2 separate regions of the Homo sapiens genome follow, and region 1 is linked to region 2. Evidence: promoter capture Hi-C in 16 types of primary human blood cells and fetal thymus (Javierre and others, 2016). All regions are on one chromosome and are shown on one strand. Each heading gives the region's core, a stretch centred on a gene start or on the middle of the fragment in contact. The rest is flanking DNA. Distances are from core to core; before and after follow the strand shown. Region 1 overlaps AK8 (adenylate kinase 8). Region 2 holds the start of CFAP77 (cilia and flagella associated protein 77).

What was found. Contacts are between HindIII fragments. The CHiCAGO score rates a contact against its expected background, and 5 or more counts as called.
Region 1: a contact is called between a fragment that was not itself captured here and the fragment with the promoter of CFAP77 in region 2, in 3 of 17 cell types (activated CD4 T cells, naive CD4 T cells and naive CD8 T cells). The highest score is 5.9, in activated CD4 T cells.

What each region holds. Positions count from the first base shown.
Region 1 is chr9:132,768,447-132,772,320 of GRCh38, reverse strand. All of the region lies in intron 11 of AK8 (adenylate kinase 8), which reads left to right. Among named protein-coding and RNA genes, the nearest start is that of GTF3C4, 100 kb to the right of the region's middle. RefSeq lists a silencer at 1,720-2,019 and enhancers at 1,885-2,179, 2,290-2,349. The HindIII fragment of the contact is 5,506 bases long and covers 1-3,874 here.
Region 2 is chr9:132,407,800-132,411,536 of GRCh38, reverse strand. CFAP77 (cilia and flagella associated protein 77) reads right to left here and starts at 1,326. Exons shown (of 6, transcript NM_001282957.2): 1 at 1,071-1,326. The coding sequence starts at 1,265. It overlaps LOC105376304 (a long non-coding RNA gene), which reads right to left and starts at 896. Exons shown (of 3, transcript XR_930405.2): 1 at 1-896. RefSeq lists a silencer at 169-218. The HindIII fragment of the contact is 3,866 bases long and covers 1-3,256 here.

The DNA.
Region 1 (3,874 bases), core at 1,169-3,668, 360 kb before region 2:
GGCTTCACAGGTGAATTTTGTGGAACACAATTCAACCCTAACAACATCTGCAGCGGGCTATGAGTCTGGTAGTTCAGGAAGAAAAATTTGGGAATCACCAGAGTCTAACACCCAGTGAGCTCTCAAAGAGCAACTCCTCTCATTGATGGTGGTGGCAGGAGCATTCTGGGGTGATATGGTTTGGCTGTGTCCCCACCCAAATCTCATCTTGAATTCCCACGTGTTGTGGGAGGGACCTGGTGGGAGGTAATTGAATCATGGGGGCAGGTCCTTCCCATGCTGTTGTTGTGATAGTGAATAAGTCTCATGAGATCTGATGGTTTTTTTAAGGGGGAGTTCCCCTGCACAAGTTCTCTCGCTTTGCCTGCTGCCATCCATATAAGATGTGACTTGCTCCTCCTTGCCTTACGCCATGATTGTGAGGCCTCCCCAGCCATGTGGAACTGTCAGTCCATTAATCCTCTTTCCTGTATAAATTACCCAGTCTCAGGTGTGTTTTTATTAGCAGCGTGAAAACAGACTGATACACAGGCTCTGAAAGGAAGCTCCGTCCTAGCCTTTCCCCTCTGGTGACCTCACACCACACGACGCTGCTTGTCAATGGCCCTGGCCATTCATAATGGAGCCACACCGCCATAACAAGGTGGGAGCCTTGAGCCTTTTGAAGGGAATTGCAGTCAGAACATGCTAGATGGATGGAGACCCAGTACTCTCCAGCTTACCTTCATTCTGCCTTCACATTTCAATCAAGTGACACCTTGGGGTTTGTTTCTTTACAAGAGGCGCCCTTTCAGTCCATGAAGGACCCCTTAATGGCCTTATTGAGAGCCTGTGGTAGGGGCTTAAGCATATAAAGATGGAGGATTGTACGATCCAGGGAAGGCGACACATTTTCATAAACAGAATCTCGTAAAAACATCCAGAGAGGGCTGCCATGTGCATGATTCCTGGCCCGTTCTGTTGACAGGGACATAATTCTCACAGTGTAAGCCTGACCACCATCTGCCATAGCACTTTCCTCCATAGTCTCTTGTCTCCTGTGGGCAGGAGGGCCAGGCCCTGGGCTGTGCACCTGGCCTACCTCTTCCCTCCTAGTCCTTCCAGCAAGACCAGGAAAGGGTGCATCACCCGAACCTTTCAGCTGAGGAAACTGAGGCTCCAAGAGGCTGAGTGTCTTGCCCTCATCACACAGCACATCATGGCAGTGGAGACGGACTCGGACTGAGACGGAGTCCCTGGACTCCTGTGCTCTGAGCCGCTGAGCGCAGAGTCTTCAGGTCACCCTGGCACTAAGTCCACACCTGCCCTGCTGGCTTCCCAGAGGCCTCCTGAGGCCCCCTGCTCAGCCAGACCCTCCCATCTCCTGTGCTGCGTTTGCCGAGGCCACCAGCTGCTCCCTCCCCACTGAGATGAGATGGGGGAAGCATCTCCCTGACTGGGGAGGCCCACACCGCTGGGCCTGAGAGAAGGTGTAACCCCATGCCAGGGGGTCTGCCGTGCACTCAGCAGCTGCTTCCAGAGCCCACTGGGTTCCTGGATCCAGGGGAGGGGGAATGGGGGTCAACAGGGAGCAAGACCGCCCCACACTGCGCCCCAGGGCTCCCCTTGAAGGGGCCGACCCATCCCGCTCTTCCCTGCCTTGTCCCGGTCTCGATCTCGGCCCAGCCCGCTGCCCACCGCGCTGCCCCAGGTCTCTGTTGAAATGGGACCGGCTTCCCAGCCAATTCAATCCCGGAAGTCACCACTGACCCTCACGCGGGCTGCTCAGGTTACAGCCAGGGGCAGGGCGCGCGTGCAGGGCGAGGGGCATCCCCCGCGCTCCCAGCCCGCTCCTCCACAGGGTGTCCCCTCGCCCCTGCCCCACCCCCTACCCCAGCCAGCGTTCTGGGCTCTTTATTCATTCCGAGATTCATAGCCATGAAAGTCAAACCCAGAGGCCCCTGGACGCCATCGAGCGCGGTCCTCATGGCACTGAGGAAGCAGCAGAGGCCCAGGGAAGCTGAGCGCGCCGAGGGGTGGCCCTTGGCGCGGGGCTGGGCCTCCGGGCCCGGGCTGGCGGGGCTGCTGTTTGTTTCCGCTTTCACTTTTAAATGCCACGTTGTCTGCATCCCAGGACCCAGGCAAGGGGCACGAGTGTGACCCCCCCAGGCCTTCCCCTGGTTCCGTTTCCCTCCCTAGCCCGGTCCCCACGATGGGTGGGGACAGTGGGCTGTGACAATGGATCGCGACTGCTGTTTTTACCTGGCGGACGATGCGCCCGAATTCGCTTTAACCAGATGCCCCTCTTCGCCTGGAGCCCTGGGAGCAGTCCCCCTCTCCGCTCAACAATAATTAGCCTTGTAAGACTAATGGAGGAAATCGTGTCTAATTACCCTGTTGAAGACCCAATTATGCGATTAACATTCGTGGCTATAAGCTAATGATGAGAAGAGCCTCTCATTTGCATAGCATTAAGTTAATTGCTGGCAAGCGGAGGGGCGGACAAGGCGGTGATGGCAGGATTCTCTTTCTGAAAGGATACTAATGACCAGAGAGGACGAGCCACCTGACAGCTTTATTAATTAACAGCGATCTGATTACCTACCAGGAATGGCAAGTGGCCTCGCTGAAAGTCTCGGCTCTTTGAGAAATGAGAGATGGGAGCCCTCACTGCCGATGTTTCTTCCACACGCTTTGCTGGGTTAGAGGCAAGCTCATGACCGCCTTGAAAAGCCATTTTAGACAAATCTTCCTTTGCATTCTTGCTGGAGCCCTTCTCTTATGCCCTTCCTTGGACATTTGCTCTTTCACTCCCTCCCCCATGCACTCACCCCACCCATAGTGACTGCGCTCCTCCTGCCTGCGACGCTGGCAACAGGCAGCACAGTCTAAGGTCCCTCCCGGGAAAGTGTTCAGAGAGGGTTCCATTCTGGGAGAGGCCCCCACTTTCCCCAGAGGTTTCAGATTCGAGTCAACCTTGCTGCTGGCAAATGTCAGCAGAGAATTTCAGAGCTTGAAGAATCCTTAGAGAGCATCAGTTCGAGTCTCTTACCCGGAAAAAACTGGGGGGCCCGGAGAGGCTAAGGGTCTGGAGCTCAAGATGCCCGCCAGGCAGTGGCAGGGCAGGGTGGTGCCTGGACTGTGCAGGACGGCTCTGTCTCTTCAGCCTCTCTGTCATCCCCGTCAGGCCCACTGTATTTGGAGATTTCGACGTTGCCTTGGGAACCCCTGCCCCTCCCCACAGTGCCCGCCCAGCCCCCTCCCATTTCCCCTCCTAGCACTTACTTGCCCCTGGCCCTCCTCCCAGCCTGTTTCCCCCCATGCGGGCAGGAACTGTATTGCACTCACTCTAATAAATAGATGATTGGACCAATTAAGGAAGCCTTGCAGTGGTGTGGCTGGGACTCATCTTCCAGTGGGTTTTAAAACATGGAGATTTTTAACGACAAATAAAATCTTGCATATATCCTTCTGTAACTTGCTTTTTCACTTAATAAAATATTATGGACATCTTTCCCTATCACTGCATAAAGATACAGCTCACTAGGTGTTTGCATAGCATGAGACTGTCCAGATGTATTATAATGTATTTAAATACCCTCTGTTAGCAGACATGTGTTTCCTGTTTTTTCTATTACAATGCAACAACTAGCATTCATATATATACACACACATATGCATTTGTATTTGTTTTTGCATATGTTTTGATCATTTCCTTGGGGAAAATTCATAGAAATGGAATTGCTGATCCAAAAGGCATAAACAATTAAAAAGTTGGCCGGCACGGTGGCTCACGCCTGTAATCCCAGCACTTGGGGAGGCTGAGGTGGGCAGATCACCTGAGGTCAGTAGTTTGAGATCAGCCTGACAAACATGGAGAAACCCCGTCTCTACT
Region 2 (3,737 bases), core at 77-2,576:
TCCCCCAGGTGCAGCCTGCGCCTAGGCAGTATCCTTCCTCCTCTCAGGACCGAGTTTAGGGAAGGCAAGAGGAGGGAGTCAATGTTTTGCCAGGAGCCAATTAACTCAGTTAATTCTAGCACGGGTTCCCTTTTCCCCAAAACAAAAACAAACCGCCACCACCACCTCTGGGCTCTACTCAGCGCCTGGCGGTCACACAAATAATTGTTGTTGAATCCACGGTTACCACCTGCGCCTTCCACTCCCGCACCTGGGACGCGGGGCGCATTTTTAAAGGCGCACTGCCCTCCAGCGGCGCAAGATAAATTCGCCTCGAGGCTTGCTCCCTGACCCCCAAGCCTCAGCCTGACTTCTCCAGTGGCCCCCGGGAAGGTGTGGCCGCCACAGCAGTGTTGGTTTCCCATCAGCGGGAAGCGAGGCTAAAGGTGGGGAGGAGGGAAGTGTAATGGAAGGGAAAGTGATCCAGCCCGAAACCGCAGCTCCCTCATTCTTGTCTGCGGAGCCTCCTAGGCCAAAGATTATGCTTTTTTTCTCTTAGGGTTGTAATTTGGGTAAGAAATTAGTATGATCGAACGGAAATGAACATTCGACGTGATGCTTCCAGGACAGACACGGAGCCACCGCTGCATAGACGTACCCCAGGCGTGCAGCGGAACCGGAGAGGCGGCCTTTACCCTGGGAGGGCTGGCAGCCACGACTTAGACTGGGCGTGTGCGACCTATCTGTCACCCTGTGGGTTCACTCTGTGGGAAACCACAGCAGCACCCATTGCAGCCTTACCCCATGTCAGGCGCTGTCCCGAGGTCCCGCAGAAATTACCCTATTCAATCTTCCCAATCAGTCCCTTTAGTGGTGCCATTATCATCCCACTGTGAGGATGGGGAAACCGAGGCTGAGAGAGGCGACGCGACCTGCATGGGGGTCCAGGCCTGTCTGGACCAGAGCTGGAGCTTCCCACGCTGCGCTCGGACCCCGGGCCGCGGGGCCAGGGCGCTGCGGGTGGGGACCCCCGGCGGCGCAGGTGCCCGGAGCCGGCGACAGCGAAAGCGCGGTGGGCGTGGGGTGCTCACCTTGACGATGAGAGGGTTCTGAAACATGGAGTCCCGCACGACCCCCAGCCGCTCGTTCTCCATGCCGGAACGGATGTCCGCCACGGTCAGGGGCCGCCGCGGGGGCGGGCAGACCTGGCTGACCGTGCGGCGCACAGGCTGCTGCTGCTTCCTCCATCGCGTGAGGTCCGGGCCGGAGCTCCTGGCCTCTGGCATCCTTGAGGTCGCCGGGGAGCCGGCCCGCGGGCTGGTTTGGGCGCGCTTCCCCACGTCGGGCACAGCCTGGAGCTCCGAAGGGCCTGCCGGGCGGCCCGGGCCGCACCACCGGGATCCTGAGGGGGAAACTCAGATGCCAGGACCCCTCCGGAGCCAGGCGCGCCCCGCTCGCGCCGGCCCCTCATCGCAAAGAGCCCCGGAGCAATGCAGGAGCCCCGCGGGATCCTCAGGGCGTCTCCTGGGCCCCGCGTTGCAGACTGGGAGAGGAAAGAAAACCAAGACCACCCCTGGAGGACGAATGCAACGGCCCGTCTCCTTGGCGACGGGACGCCAACAGAGCCCGGCTCGGCTTGTACTTTTCTTTCAAGAAACTCTTGGTGGCTACCAGTGTGGACTTGTTTGGAGTTTTCCTGAATCGATACAGGAGAACCGAGAATCTCCAGTGGGTTGCGTTCAAAGCGGCGTGGCTCATAGAGGGTCATTTACATTTGTCTTCCAAGTCGAAGACTCCATCCTCTGCTCACCCCCATTCCACTCACAACCCCTCCCCACCTCTGCTCTTTGCGCCACACACACACCTGAGACAGAGCACTAAATGCATTCCAAGCCTGATGCTGATGCTGACCCACTGGGAGGACTCGGGCAAGTCACCCTCTTGGATCCTAAGGGCTTTTTTTCTTTTTTTCCTGTGAGATGGGTGACAAGGAAACGCTAGAGTTGGATTACATCAATGGTTCCCAAATTTAAGCAACAGAATGAAGGGAAATTGAAAAATACAGATTTGGGCTGGGCTTGGCTGCTCACCCATGTAATCCCATTGCTTTGGGAAGCCTAGGAGGGAGGATGGCCTGAGCCCAGGAGTTTGAGACCAGCATGGGCAACATGGTGAGGTCTCATCTCTACCAAAAATTAAAAAAATTACCCAGGTGTGCTGGCACACACCTGTGGTCCCAGCTATGGGGGAGGCTGAGGCAGGAGGATCACTTGAGGAGGTTGAGACTACAATGAGCCGTGTTTCGGCAACTACATTCCAGTCTGGATGACAGAATGAGACCATGTGCCAAAAAAAGAAAAACGAAGATTCACAGGACTCACCCCAGACTCACTAAATCAGAATATCTGGAAATGGCATCTGAGGCTCTCCTTTTTTTTTTTTTTTTAAGAGACGGAGTCTTGCTCTGATAATGACATGAGCCACCTCACCAGGCCAGATGCTGCATTTTTAAAAATCCCCTTACCCACCCACCCACAACTTGGTGAAAAAGTTCAAACCTACAGAAAAGTTGAAAGTCGAAAGAAGAATACAATGAAAATACATATAGGCTTCACCTAGATTCGGTTAGATTTTGAAGGGAAGGGGAGGGTTAAAGAAAGAGTGGCGGCTCTACAGCAAATTCAGGCTTTATGTCCAGCATGAGACCTACAGAGGTGGGAGACCAGCTTAATGCCAGTGCCTACCGCTGCTTACAGGCTGGAGAAATTATAGGCCTGGGCGGGGAGGGGCCCGGTGGGTATGGCCTGCTGCCCGGGAAGATGTTGATAAGGTATTCCCATGATGAGGCAGTTTGGCCCTTGTTCTGGTGGAACGTGATGTTCCTGTCACTTTCTCCCAGCAGAATATGATAAGAGGCAGGCTGTTTCTCACTGCCTGAACCCCCGTGGAATGTTTCACTTTAAGCAAGGTCTGCAAAATGGCAGGGGGCTTACAAAATGGTGCAGTTTGGACTAACAGATTCACCCGTCCCCAGCACTGGTCACATTTTCTTGCTCTCTCTCTGTGAGCATGCACATACACACATTACAGAATCACCTGAAAAATATCTGTCAACACCATATTTAACCCTAAGTACGTCATCATGTAGCAAGGACATTCCCATGTGTAACTACAATGTCATTATCATGTCCGAAGATTTTAATGTGATACAATAGTGTTTAATATAAAATCCATTGCAAAGTTGAGACTCTGCATTTGAAAAAAAAAAAAAAAAGCTTCCCAGGTGATTGGTGCAGTTGGAGGAGGATTGGAAACCACTATTGGAGTTTTCCTGAATCGATACTGGATGATATCTAATCTCTCCTCTAGTGCCAGCCTTTTGTGGGTTCATTCATGCATCACTAGCACCACAAGGCTCTGGGTAAGTGGGGTCACCACAGAACACGTGACACCAATGACGGACCTGGACTTCAAGGCCTTCCATATCAACAGTGGACAACACCACATTTACAGACTTCTCCAGACGGAGCTCCAACTGCACGTCCACATCCCAGAGCAGCCCTTGCATGGCAACATGAGTACATACATAGGCTCATCGTTTCTCCAACCTGCTTCCCTTCCAGACTTTCACGGAAGCATAGTTTGTGCATTTTTTAATCAAAGCCACTTGGCAGATCACATAGAAGTCAGGTGGAACAGTGAGGGGCAAGATAGTGGAGTAGTAGAAAGAGCATAGGTCTGATTTCTGGCTGGCCCAT